Linked DNA regions of Homo sapiens: all the other regions are linked to region 5. Evidence: promoter capture Hi-C in 16 types of primary human blood cells and fetal thymus (Javierre and others, 2016). All regions are on one chromosome and are shown on one strand. Each heading gives the region's core, a stretch centred on a gene start or on the middle of the fragment in contact. The rest is flanking DNA. Distances are from core to core; before and after follow the strand shown. Region 1 overlaps SERBP1 (SERPINE1 mRNA binding protein 1). Region 2 has its middle 21 kb from the start of LINC01702. Region 3 has its middle 12 kb from the start of INSL5. Region 4 overlaps DYNLT5 (dynein light chain Tctex-type family member 5). Region 5 holds the start of SLC35D1 (solute carrier family 35 member D1).

Region 1 (2,700 bases), core at 35-2,534, 370 kb after region 5:
GACTGGTCTTGAACTCCCGACCTCAGGTGATCCGCCCGCCTCAGTCTCCCAAAAGTGCTGGGATTACAGGTGTGAGCCACTGCGCCTGGCTGAAACCACGTGTTCTAATGCAGTTTTTTTTCTACAGGACTTAAAAAAGACAATGTCCTCATTTACTACTCATATGAAGTAAATGTTAAAAATCATCTCTAAACCTAAAAAAACTTTTAATCTTTTTAACCTCCATTTTATTTTAAAATGTTTCCAAGTTTGTCTTATAGCCATTTTGCAGTTTAAAAAATTATGCTTATTGGCTGGGCATGGTGGCACACGCCTATAATCCCAGCACTTTGGGAGGCTGAGGCAGGCGGGGATCACTGAGGCCAGGAGTTTGAGACCAGCCTGGCCAACATGATGAAACCTCATCTCTACTAAAAACACAAACATTATCCGGGCATGGTGGCGAGTGTCCGTAATCCCAGCTACTGAGGAGGTTGAGACACAAGAACTGTTTGAATCCGGGAGGTGGAGGTTGCGGTAAGCAGAGATGGTGCCACTGCATTCCAGCCTGGGCGACAGAGCCAGATTCTGTCTCAAAAAAAAAAAATAAAAATAACTAATACCTTATTGAAAGGGTTTGCCCTCACAATATTTTAATTTAACTTTACCTTAGGATGATAAAACTCAGTCTGGATTTCTGGCACAGCCCAATTTATGATATGAATAAATCAAACACAAATGTCAAAAGGTTAAAGGAAGCTGATAGAGAAAATGAATTTAGGAGAAGAAATAATATAGTTAGGGCTTGTATGAGTTTTTAAAGCCAAACAGGAAGCCGCACTGAAACATTCCTCTAAGAACACACCCCAAAGCTTAAACGGAAGCTACCAAATCAAAAGCCATCAATGTGACTTTCTCCAATACAGTTGACCCTTGAACAACGTGGCTTTGAACATTCTGCCTCTGTCAGTCTTGAGACAAGCAAGCCCAATCCCTTTTCTTCCTATCCAAAATAAAGACCTTTGTGATGATCCAGTTCCACTTAATGAACAGTAAATATATTTTCTCAACATTTTCTTTAGCTTACTTTACTGTAAAAACACAGTATATAATACGCAACATACAAAATGTGTTAACTGGTTATGTTATCACTAAGACTTTCAGTCAACAGGTTATTAGTAGTTAAGTTTTGGGAGAGTCAAAGGTTACATGTGCATTGATCTGCGGGGTCAGTGCCCCTAGCATCCTCATGTTGTTCAACAAGTCAACTGTATTTTCACTAGTTTCCATGTTTCTTAAGTAAAACCCACATATACTTTGGTTTTTAAAGTCGTCATTCCTTAGACAAAATGCACATTGCCATTTACTGAGTGTCCTGGCCATTATATATGGTATAGGCAGACAGTTTCAAAAGTTGAATTCTAAATGAAGTCACTTACATTTTAGGTTAAACCATATGAAAATGTCAAGATTTCAACCTAACACCATAATACCACAGCCCTTTAATGATCCCCAGTTTGGCAAGATTTCAAAAATACAACCACAACTTTGAAAAGAACTATCATATTTCTGAACACCAATAACTACAAGATACTCCACTAACAGCTTTTTAGGAAAAAGTAACTCTACCACATAAAACATAATTACAAATTGATCAAAGGACTAAATTTCTTAGAATATGTGATAATACAGTTTATTTTCCTTATAAAGCAAATTATCTGCCCCAAATGATCCTATGTAAAGCTTTAACAGACAAATAACCCATGTGAAATTTTAAAACAAAAATTATAAATACAATTCAAGTCACATCTGAACATTTTCAAACACGACAAAACTTAATTTTACCTCTTCACTCTTTGATTTATGAAGAACAAATCCCTTCTTCCACTGCCCATCAGCACCTTCATTTGGTTTTCGGATATTAAATTCTACTTTTGCCCGGTCCTTATTTTGAATAGCCTTCCACTCATCCAAAGTCATCTCTTTTGGACCCTCCTCTTTTACCTCTTCAACTTCATTCTCCCTGTGAAAAGGTTTTCAAGTTTTATACCTGGTAGAGAGCTGATATTACATAAAAGTATTTTAAATTTATGATTTTAATTGAGAAAATTAACCTTGTAATCTTTTAGAGAAAGATTATTCAAGGATGAGGGTACCCTAGTTTCCTATGTAACTAAGCAACTTGGTAGAGACCAGGAATTCAGTGTTTGCTAATTAGAGACAAGTAAGGAATATGGAATTCATACTTATGAACTCTTAAATGATCATTTATCAGTAATACAATCTAGAACTGGCTTTACGAATACTAAAATACACATTTCTTAAAAACACTACCTTGTTTAAAAACTACCCTCTTATGTAAAATCCTCAGCCTATCTTCTCCTAAACCACATTTTTAATTTCCATAATTCCCACAATATGTAACTCTTAATAACATACAAGAAGGTAATCCTCTAGGATGTCTGTCAGCAACCAGGGTTCAAATTTTGGAATATAAAAGAACTGTTCCTCTATGCTTTGTTTCAGCAACTAGCACTTAGAGCAAATCAAAACAATAGCCGTGTTTCTACAAATCCTAAAATCCTTATACTCCAATTTTCAAACCAACCTGTATATGGAAAGGAGGCCATGGATTCACTACTAATAGAACTATCCACAAACACACACTGGTTTCATTATTTAATACTAAACCATTTATTTCCAAATATAATTCTCAGGTCT
Region 2 (2,700 bases), core at 72-2,571, 450 kb after region 5:
AGGCACGTGCCGCCACGCCAATTTTTGTATTTTTAGTAAAGACGGGGTTTCACCATATTGGTCAGGCTGATCTCGAACTCCTGACCTCGTGATCCACCTGCCTTGGCCTCCGAAAGTGCTCGGATTACAGGCGTGAGCCACCGCCCCTGGCTTAGGTCTTTTCTATTAAGACACACATTAAAGGGATTTGTAAAAAATGCATTTTTGGGGGGTTTTGGAAATTTTTTTTTTTGCAAAAATACTATTTATGCTAATATTTAATTATTTATTGTTGCTATTTTTAAATGGGTATATGTTTTAAACATTTCTCATTATTAATTTCTAATATGGTAAATATCTATATAACCCATATAAACAATAGCTCTTTGGGATCCTCAATAATAAGAGTATAAAAGAGTCACGAGACCAAAAAGTGTGATACCTACTGTTGGACATAAGTGCATTCACCTGCTGGATGGCGTAAGGGCTGAAGGCTTTTCCCCATGCCCCGCGAAAAGCAATCAGCCAGCCATCCTCACTCGCCCTGGAGGCCACGTAGCCGTGGCGCGTCCCAGGCTCGAGCTCCCTGGCCTGTGCTCAGAGCGCCCTCTACAGGCCAAGAGTGGATCCCACACCATTCTTGCTTGAATCTACTGCTCTGGCTGAACTTTTAGCCCAGGGGGAGTTTGAAGTTCGCGGCTGCCTGGCGCCTTGGAACAGGCGATAGGCAGCATCTACAAGCTTCATTTTCACAGGTGGGGGCTGCGGAATGGGGAAGCATCGTGCTGCAGTGACGAAACCACTAAACTGACCTGAATCTTGGTCCTGGCTCAGTCCACAACTAGGGTGGGGTCCCCTGACCTCCCTGGGTTTCAATTACTCAGGAGGAAACAACCCACAATGAACTAGCCACAAAGATCCTTCTGGCTCTAGCAGCCTATGATTCTAGGTGCTAATTGTCCCCACGTCTTACCTAGAGAAGGGGCTTAGTTCCCTGGCTACTGCCTTTCAGAGCTATCTTTGCTTTCGAGGTTTGGCTCAATAAGAATCTGACTTCAGGATGGGTCTTTGCAGTTATGGAGCTCATGGATTTTGTTCTTTAGCAAGTGCATTTTAAAACACCTTCTCAACACTTCATCGATTTATAAAGCAAATCATAAGAAGCTGGCATTGGCTCAAGCTCTGGGCCAATATATGCATTTTCTTATTTGAGCCACACCACAACCCTATTACCATTATTCCCACTTTACAGAGAGAAAAACAGAGGTCCAAGGAACTTAAGTAACTTGCCAAGATCCCAGAGCAACTGTATAGCAGAACGGGAATTCAAAACCAAGCAGTCTGGTTCCACACCCACAACACTATACCTAGCCCGGATAATAAGAGTTTGCATTTTTTAAGGTTTGCTGTGTCCCTGGAGATTTACATACATTATCTCATTCAATACAGCAATTCTACAAAGTAGGTATTATTATCTCAGGTGTTTTTTTTGTTTGTTTTTAGACGAAGCCTAGCTCTGTCGCCCAGGTTGGAGTGCAGTGGCTCGAGCTTGGCTCACTGCAACCTCTGCCTCCCGGGTTCAAACGATTTTTCTATCTCAGCCTCCTGAGTAGCTGGGACTACAGGTGCCGGTCACCACGCCCGGCTAATTTTTTGTATTTTTAGTACAGACAGGGTTTCACCATGTTGACCAGGCTGGTCTCGAACTCCTGACCTCGTGATCCAACTGCCTCAGCCTGCTAAAGTGCTGGGATTACAGGCGTGAGCCACCATGCCCAGCCTATTATCTCAGTTTTACAAGGAGGACACTTATTCTCACCCAGCTACTGAGTAGAATACTGATTTGAGATTTGACCTCTGGGACTGCAAAGCCTGTGCTGTTCATTATTATTCAGCACCATCTCTGTGCCAGGAAAAGATGAAGAACACCAACTGGGTCTTCAAGAAGCTTATATTATAATCTCCTTATGAGATAATAATGGTGACTGACATTTACTGAGAACTGTTCTAAGCCTTTACACATATGAACTCATTGAATCCTCACAATAACCCAATGAGATACAGATAATTACTATCCCAGTTTGCAAATGAAGAAATCATGGTACAAGGCAGGTGGGGTGCTAAGTAAATCACCTGAAATCCTACATTTGGTAAATGTTAGAGTTGGGATTCAAACCCAGGAAGCCTGGCTCTAATACTTGAGTTTTTAACCACTACATTATGCAAAGAGCAAATAGTTCCTGCAGAGACACAGAGGTCATTGACCAACTGAAAGAAGCTGTCTTCAACAGCTGAAAGAAGCAAGCCTGGTCTGCAGAAAGATCTCAATGTGGGAAGGAAGGTGTCGACCCCTCAGCCCCATTCCTTTTCAGTCCTGGTGTTCCAGCTGCCTATGAGACTGCTACATTTGAAAATTATTCCTTCTCAGCTGGGCATGGTGGCTCATGCCTATAATCCCAGTTCTTTAGGAGGCTGAGGTGGGTGGGTGGGTGGATTGCTTGTGCCAAGGAATTCAGGCTGGGCAACATGGCAAAACCCTGTCTGTACAAAAAATACAAAAAATTAGCCAAGTGTGGTGGCACGCACCTGTAGTCCCAGCTACTCAGAGTCTGAGGTGGAAGGATCACTTGAGCCCAGGAGGTCAAGGCTGCAGTGAGCCATGGTTGTGCCACTGCATGCTAGCCTGGACAGCAGAGCAAGATGCTCTCTCAAAAAAAGAAA
Region 3 (2,700 bases), core at 120-2,619, 260 kb before region 5:
GATGCTTACTCTCAACCTCTAATTTTTTCCTGCAGAAACTCTTTTCTAAAAAATTGAACAGATATTTTTGCAATTTCTGCTCACTACCCTAATGTAATACCCTAGATTACATTTTTTCTTTTATCACCTTTAATCATCTGCTGCTGCCTTCTTTGAATGACAATTTCTTCTCAAGTCCACATTTATTATACAGTCCTGTACATCTCCAAATTTAGCTTCTCGTGGCTGATGTCTACCTGTTTTTAAATGTTTCATTCGGATGTCTTAACTCTCACTTCAGTAATTTCTTGATTCCTTTGAACATTTCTGTTTACTGCCGCCTATTTTATCCTGTTAATTCTCATTTGAATTTATATATTCCTCTAGTATGTTCACACAGAATAAACATACTAAAGGTTTATTTAGACATATATATTATCTGTTTAAAGTCTCCTGTAATCTCTTCTTAATTTCTTTCCTTGCCAATTTGAGTACACTTTTGTTTTTTAATTTTAGTGCAGGATATAACTTGAGACTTGTGGTTTTCCACCCACCCACCAGGGTATTTCCCCACCTAGCAAGGCAAGGAACCAGTATAACCAGTACGGGAAGCACTAAGCTTCACTTTACATTTGTGATCAGAAAAGTTGCCCACGGATGATGATGAGGGTGAATCATCTAACTATTAAAAGGACAGAATATCCAGCCCGATTTGTTTAGGGGTTTCTGGGAAATAGTTTTTTAAATTCCTATGAAAAATATCAAGTTTAAAGACTCATAATTTCATGTTGAAACTAAAGGAAAATAAACTGTATGTTGTTGGTTAATTATATAATTATATTTATTTTTTTCCTTTAAGGAAATGTGTTATATAACAAGAACTTTGGTAGGACAGGTGTAATAATTTTTTTAAAATATATAGTTAAATTGCTTGCTTGCATCCCAATTCACAAGCACAAGTAAAAGCCATTTAAGGGCCCAATCATTTAAAGAAGAAATAGTATCAATCTTAAACACTCGGAGATTAAAGAAAGAAGGACCACTTTCCAACTCATTTTATGGAGCTAGCTTAACCCTGATAGCAAAATCACTGAAGTATATTACAGAAAAAACATAAATGTTACTTAAAAATTTATTAACATGGTATTATAAAAAACATCAATGTTGTTTATGAAAATATATGCTAAGCAAAATGCTAACAAATAAAGTGCAGTGGTATATAAAAAAGAGAATACATTATTAATTATTGGAAATATTTTTACAATTCATTTGTGTACAAATAAGTAAAACTTCACTTAAAAGTCATGCACTTTATTGTATGTGTATTATACTCCAGTGAATTTTTTTAAGTCACGAGGCTAAAGATTCTATTACAGCTTTTTTCTTCCAGATTTTTAAAGAACAAATAATGCCTTCATTCTGTAAGGCTAGAATAATCTTTATTGACAAAACATATAGATCAGTTTTATTTATGAACACAGATACAAAAATTCTAAATAAAATATTAAATGCAATGCTTCTGAGTATTAGAGAATGCTATACTGTGATCAAATGGATTTATTCTGAGAATATAGAGACATTTCAACATAAGAAAGATTCTCAACAGAACTCTTCACATTTACTAAAGAGAAAAATACCATATGATAAAATTAAATGTGTATTTTATGAAATTTAGAAGAATTTCCAACAAAATGAGTCCTTCAGCAATATGTAATAGGATAATGCTTTTAAGATAATTACAAATATTATATATACATGTATAATATAGATTAATTCATTATTTATTGTTTTATTTATTCATATTTCAACCAACAAATGTCATACTGAGTAGTGAATGCTAAAGCCATTTCCATTACAATTACGAACATGGGAGAGATGTTTACTGTCGTTATTATCATTTAGATCAGGGGTGTCCAATCTTTCAGCTTCCCTGGGCCACACTGGAAGAAGAGGAATTGTCTTGGGCCACACATAAAATACACTAACACTAACGATAGCTGACGAGCTAAAACACACACACAGACACACACACACACACACACACACACACAAAACAACAACCAAAAAAAACTCATAATGTTTTAAGAAAGTTTACTAATTTGTGTTGGACAGTATTCAAAACCATCCTGGACCTCATACAGCCCACAGGCCACAGATTGGACAAGCTTGATTTACATTTTTTTAATGATCACTTCCCTGTGAGGCCTTCCCTGGCCACCCTGCTTAAAACTCAATTCCCTTTATCCCCCCACCCAAGCTTTCCCATCCCCCTTCCATGGTTTATTTTCTTCTCAGCATCAATAATAATCTAATATTACTCCTGTTTACATGTGCCATCCATTATAATATGCACTTTTTCTGTTCTACTCACAGCTTTATTCTTACTACCCAGAACCATGCCTCGCGCATTACTCTCTCAATAAATAATTATTGAATAATGAGTAAGGTAGTAAGTCAAGAATATGAAACAATCAGCTTAAATCCTATAAAAGAAGAGACAGAAGTATCTTTTCATTGTAGATGATAATATTGCATACCTCAAAAATCCAAAATGAATTAGTCAAGCAGCTATTAAACTTAATAAAATTACTTGGCAAGGTGCTTGGAGATAAGATAATGTTTTAAAAATCAAGATTTTTCTTTGCACTGCAACAAGTAATTAGAAATGAACATGGAAGAAATTTCTCATTCACAGTGGCAAAAAATTCTGGTGTAAGTTTA
Region 4 (2,700 bases), core at 195-2,694, 280 kb before region 5:
TTGCTGTCTTACTTTTCTTTACTAATGTTTCCCAAATGCCAAACAATTCACTGGGTGGCACTGATGCATACAGTATACTACTGACTTAACAAATTCACTGAGTATTTCTGGGTACATAGATATGACTTAAATGAAAGAGATAAGTATTGATATTTTATCCAACAAAACCAATCAGTGTTGTTAGGTGAAGGAAAAAAAAAAACTCAAAGCAAAGGCAAATGACTCATAGTCCCCTGTTGACAGAGACGTTTATCCATTACCACTGAGGTTTTGAGTCTTTGAAAACAAAGATCTTTGCACCTGCCGCTATACTCCCAGGTGGAGTCCGTGGCAAATATCTTTTCCCATCCATGTTTCCTCATAGACCCACTTGTTTTCTCTAAAAGCGTACCTGCCCACTATTACCTGAATTCATACATAATTACTGCTATATGGAAATTCCACAGAGATTTACCAAGGGGCAAAGAAAGACTCTATGGGCCAAGGTGATTCCATCTGTGGCCAGTTAACCCCAAGAAAATTATAGACCATCAGCCTGTCCCCTCTGGCCTTGTAGCCAGTTTTCTACAGGAGTCCCCAAGACTACATGGATTACACGGCTCCATAATTAGCCAATCTACTGGTATTTTCACAGTGCCTGTGGTGGACAGCTAATATTCCTGCCATCCAATATACTTTTATACTTCTCTGGTAACCTCACTAAATTTCCTTTGAAATTCCACCAACATCACCACTTTTGATCCTAGCATTCTAATGAAGCTGGCACTGGCTTTATAGATAGAGCAGTGACTGATTCTAGGATGGCATATAACCATGGTGAATCCAATCAAAGACTTTGAGATTAAATTCAGAAAATGTTGTTTGGCCTGTTGCAGAAGAACATAAAGCCCTGAAACTTGAAGGAATGTAGGGGCTCTGGCAGGATCTGCCACCTTGCCCTGACTTGAAACTGAGAGAAAACAACAGAATCCTGGTGTCATCATTTGAGTCCTAAATCCAATTGGCTACCCTTTAACTTTTCAGTTAGGCAAGCTAAGTTTGGGTCAGGTTTTCCCTCACTTGCAACTAAAAGTTCTTAGCCATGGGGTGTCTATGACTTTGAACTGTGCATGCTGGAAGGGTTTGAATCAGATTTGAACAAGACAGGGCCAGTGAAATGTGAATCTCTGTGTTTCTACATAAGGATATTTTTTGCAACTTGTTTTCTCAAATAAAGCATCTTATCAGTTTTAGAAGTACTGAGTATGAACCACATTAGAAAAGTAATTTTAGAAAAAGCTTAGTATAGATGAAATATACCTGTATTTTCCTACAATAGTCTATGTGAATTTTTTAATAATTAAAATATTTTATGCTTGACAATTCCCTTTTTATAGCATTCAACCAGCCATTTTATTAATACTTAATCAAAACTGTGTTTCCACTTCTACTTGTTTCTGGGTTTATTTCACATATGAAAGGTATTTTGTGAGTGTATTAGTCCGTTTTTGCATTGCTATAAAGAAATACCTGAGACTGTAATTTATAAAGAAAACAGGTTTATTTGGCTCATGGTTCTAGAGACTATACAGGAAACGTGGTGCCAACATCTGCTTCTGGTAAGACCTCAGTAAGCTTTTAGGCATGGCAGAAGGGAAGGAGAGTTGGCATGTCACATGGCAAGAGAGGGAACAAGAGAGGTGCCAGGCTGTTTTAAACACCCAGCTCTCATGTGAACTAATAGAGGAAGAACTATAGAGCAAGAACTCAGTAATTACCGCTGGGACAGCACCAAGCCATTCATGAGGGATCCACCTTCCTGGCCCCAACACCTCCCACCAGGCCCCACCTCCAACACTGGGGATCACATTTCAATATGAGATTTGAAGGGGACAAATATCCAAACTATATCAGTGGGACTTTGGTAAATAGTTTATCATATCTTTACAATGTAATACTGGCCAGAAAAGTAGAGGGAAATATCAGCCAATCACCAGCACTATTATGTTTAATTAATTTTTCATTCCATTCAATAATGTTTGCCTCATCTAAACACATCTTAAATGAGAGCATTTACATAAATAATTACAGCTACAAAAAATGAGATGAAACATGAGTATCATTCATGAGAGGAGAAAAGGGAATAGAAAAGGAAAGTGTGTTTCTTTTAATAAAATACCATTTATATATTTCTCATTAATTACTAAAACAAATATAAAAGAAAATGCAGGCTGTGGCATCTGTCGTATCTGAATTTGAATACTAATTTTGCTAATTCCTTGAGCAAGGTATTTAGCATCATTGAATCTCAGTGTCTTCACTTGTAAATAGGGATAATAGTCTATACATCACATGGATGCTATGAGACTCAAATGATGTTATATGTTTAAATCTCTCCATTCATCATGTTACTACTCCTGAAAGTGACTGACTCAAGGACCTTACTATAGATCACTAAGAATAAAAGCCTTCCATGATATTCATTGTAACTTCATATTAATTATGGAATAAGTTTTCCACAGGACTTTTTCTGGAACTGAGTATAGTGGCACCTGGTTGTTTGCAAACATGGACTGCGAGCACCGAGCCAAACTAGATTGGCGGCCATCTTTGCTACCACATCAAGACAGCCTGCCTTGAGAATGAAGCCAGCACAGTAGAAAGTAGATCCAAAATATTGAGAGAGAAAGAGAGAGATTATTTGAGTTCAGCTTCCATGAA
Region 5 (2,719 bases), core at 88-2,587:
ACTCTGAGCGCCTTTCCCACCCAGAGAACTGCCACTGTGGCCACCATCTGTAAACAAGAGAACACAGATTCACTGTTCTACACATAAAGACACACACAGAAGTTCTAACAACATAAACCACGTAATGGTGAGGATTCCAACTAACCTGGCCAAGTCCAACACATAGTGAGGAGGGAAATCTACAAAAAGGGCAAAGAAAAAAACAAGATCAGAACAAACCTAACTTAGCTCCGTGAATTCAATTTGCACATCGGCAACGTTAATAAGGCATTCCGATACAAGCCACATCAACGTCCGCCCCTAAATCAAACAAAAATCTTGGGAGAAAACTCTCTGCCTGTTGGTTGTCAGTCCACCCCGCTGATGTAGCCTCGGGCGGCCGCTTGTCCCATCTTGTCCGAGTCTACAGTTTCAGTCCGCTGCCTGCAAAGGATTTCTCAAGGCAGTGCAGATACAGATCTCTGCAACGATTTCACACACCTTAAAAAAAAAAACAACCAACTTCTGCCTCTGGGTCCCAGTGTTAGCAAGGGAATAATTGTCTGCTGGGTTGAGGATGCGTACGTCCCCAGAGGCTGTCAGCGGGTGCAGGGGACACTGAAGCCCCGGCCCCCTGTCCAGGCTGCGGAGGAGGGAGGCTTCCCTCGCTCTCCTCCCTGATCGACAGGCATAACGGCTCAAAAGTCACCAAGCAAATCACTTTGCTCCATCTCTCTGAAGGGCAGGGTTTTCGGGGCGGTGCGCCCAGGGCATGGCAGGCGAGCCCCAAATGTGCCGGGCCGGCCGGAGCTCCGCGCAGGGAGCGGACCCCTGCCACAGGCCCGCTCGCCAGGCCGGCTCCGCTGCCCGGGCCGCGCGCGTCAGCCGCCCGCCCTCCCCAGCTCCCGCCCAACTTTGTTCGGCTTTAACTTTGGCAGTCAAAGTCCAGGGAGCCGGCGCCGCGCCGCCGCCGCCGCCCGCTCCTCCTCCGCGGCCTGGGCCGCCGCCGCCTCGGCCCTACCTGTAATTGGTGAGCACGCTCTTATTCACCACCACGATCAGGAAGGAGCTCACGCCGTAAAAGCCGGCGGCCAGCAGCTTCAGAAACACGGTCAGCGTTTCGGCCGACGCCATCCCCAGCTCCTCCTCATCTCGGAGTGTGGAGGATTTCGCGGGGGCTTCTCCTTTAACCCGAGCATGCTGACGTCTATGAACTTCCGCCATGGCTGCCGCAGCAGCGGTGGCCTGGCGGCGGGGCCTAGCGGCTCGGGGGCCTGCAGCGGCAGCTCCCAGGGGACTCCAGGAGTTGGGGACCGCAGACTAGGCCAGCTGCGCGCTCGCCGCCTCGACTCCCCGCTTGGCCGCCGCCTGTCCCCGCCCAGGGGCAGGGACGCCGGGGTTCACACCCCTGGAGACTTTGCTCGGGCATTGTGCAACGCGGGGTCAGAGAGTAGGGCCGCGCCGGGCTTAGCCTGGGCAGGGGTTGGAGAGAGCCTGGAGAAGGGGCAGTGGCGACCCCCCTGCCCGAGGCGGATAAGGAGAAGCCAGGGGAACTACATCGAGACACCAGAGCGCCGGGCGACAAACCACAGACTCCGGGTGACAGTCGCCCTGCGCCTGCGCACGAGCACGCGCTGGGTCTCTCCGCGGGGCGCGTACCTGGGGCGTGGGGAGTCTGGTGGCAGAGGGGCTGGAAGGCCGTATTCTCCGGATAACTGCCGCAACTAAGTGCAGACCCTCCTCCCCTCTGTTACAGGTGGCCGGCCAAGTAGTTACAGTACACTGCGTCTAGACTAATTCTGAATGCTCTTTTAGTCTCTCTTGCAGGGGGTAAAAACCCTTCAAAAGTATCAGATGTGGATCAACAGTAAACACTCAACGAAAATTTCATTCCGCAATGCCTCAGGCTTCTTACATTTTCTGAACCCAGAAAACACCAAACAATACTTTTCAGATTGAGAAGTTTCGTTTGTTTGTTTTAAGAAAAATGTTGACATATCCCAAAAAGTAGCAAGATAAGCAGCTTGGGGATTGGGGAAAGCACAAGGTGTTTGGAGCCTAAAAGACTTGATTTCCAATTGTAGGATTCCTAGAAATGACGACCCCCCCCCCCCCCACCAACACACTCACTCCTTATTGTGTGTCTTGGACCAATTAGATGACCTCCCTGAACCTGATCTCTGTGGATGTGTAGCTAGCAAAGAGCTAGTTTTCGGTAAATGGTAGTCATTATTGTATAACAGAAGCAAATCATTATGATCGGTTTAAGCAAAGAAATTACGTATTGAACTTTAATAGATTAGGAAAGAAGAACTTTGAATTATTTTTCTAAGTGCTTGGTCTGTATCTTTTTAAATTTCTTTTTTTTTTTTTTCTTATTTTTATATTTTGGTAAACCAGGTATAGTGGTTCACACCTGTAATACCAGCACTTTGGGAGCAGGTGGAATGCCTGAGCCCGGGAGTTTGAGACCATGCTGGGCAACAAAGTGAGACCCTCTCTCTACAAGAAAATAAAAAAATTAGCCAGATGTGGTGGCGCACGCCTGTGGTCCCAGCTACTCAGGAGGCTGAGGTGGGAGGATGGCTTGAGCCCAGGAGGTCAAGGCTGCAATGAGCTATGATCATACTACTGCACTCCAGCCTGGGCAACAGCACAAGACCATCTTAAAGAAAGAAATAAATTGTGGCAAAATATACAAAGTATAAAATTTATCATTTTAACCCTTTTTGAGTATGCA

Evidence for each region. Contacts are between HindIII fragments. The CHiCAGO score rates a contact against its expected background, and 5 or more counts as called.
Region 1: a fragment that was not itself captured here is called in contact with the fragment with the promoter of SLC35D1 in region 5 in 1 of 17 cell types (total CD8 T cells); the score reaches 6.8 in total CD8 T cells.
Region 2: a contact is called between a fragment that was not itself captured here and the fragment with the promoter of SLC35D1 in region 5, in 3 of 17 cell types (non-activated CD4 T cells, total CD4 T cells and total CD8 T cells). The highest score is 5.4, in non-activated CD4 T cells.
Region 3: a fragment that was not itself captured here is called in contact with the fragment with the promoter of SLC35D1 in region 5 in 1 of 17 cell types (total CD4 T cells); the score reaches 5.4 in total CD4 T cells.
Region 4: a contact is called between a fragment that was not itself captured here and the fragment with the promoter of SLC35D1 in region 5, in 1 of 17 cell types (fetal thymus). The highest score is 6.7, in fetal thymus.

What each region holds. Positions count from the first base shown.
Region 1 is chr1:67,418,185-67,420,884 of GRCh38, forward strand. It overlaps SERBP1 (SERPINE1 mRNA binding protein 1), which reads right to left. Exons shown (of 8, transcript NM_001018069.2): 6 at 1,825-2,002. Among named protein-coding and RNA genes, the nearest start is that of SERBP1, 11 kb to the right of the region's middle. The HindIII fragment of the contact is 871 bases long and covers 850-1,720 here.
Region 2 is chr1:67,500,041-67,502,740 of GRCh38, forward strand. No RefSeq gene overlaps it. Among named protein-coding and RNA genes, the nearest start is that of LINC01702, 21 kb to the right of the region's middle. RefSeq lists an enhancer at 246-749. The HindIII fragment of the contact is 1,207 bases long and covers 719-1,925 here.
Region 3 is chr1:66,788,182-66,790,881 of GRCh38, forward strand. No RefSeq gene overlaps it. Among named protein-coding and RNA genes, the nearest start is that of INSL5, 12 kb to the right of the region's middle. The HindIII fragment of the contact is 1,546 bases long and covers 597-2,142 here.
Region 4 is chr1:66,770,656-66,773,355 of GRCh38, forward strand. The region is part of intron 3 of DYNLT5 (dynein light chain Tctex-type family member 5); the gene reads left to right. Among named protein-coding and RNA genes, the nearest start is that of DYNLT5, 20 kb to the left of the region's middle. The HindIII fragment of the contact is 336 bases long and covers 1,277-1,612 here.
Region 5 is chr1:67,052,811-67,055,529 of GRCh38, forward strand. It overlaps SLC35D1 (solute carrier family 35 member D1), which reads right to left and starts at 1,338. Exons shown (of 12, transcript NM_015139.3): 1 at 1,001-1,338; 2 at 146-179; 3 at 1-47. The coding sequence starts at 1,203. RefSeq lists silencers at 753-962, 1,253-1,442. The HindIII fragment of the contact is 15,835 bases long and covers 1-2,719 here.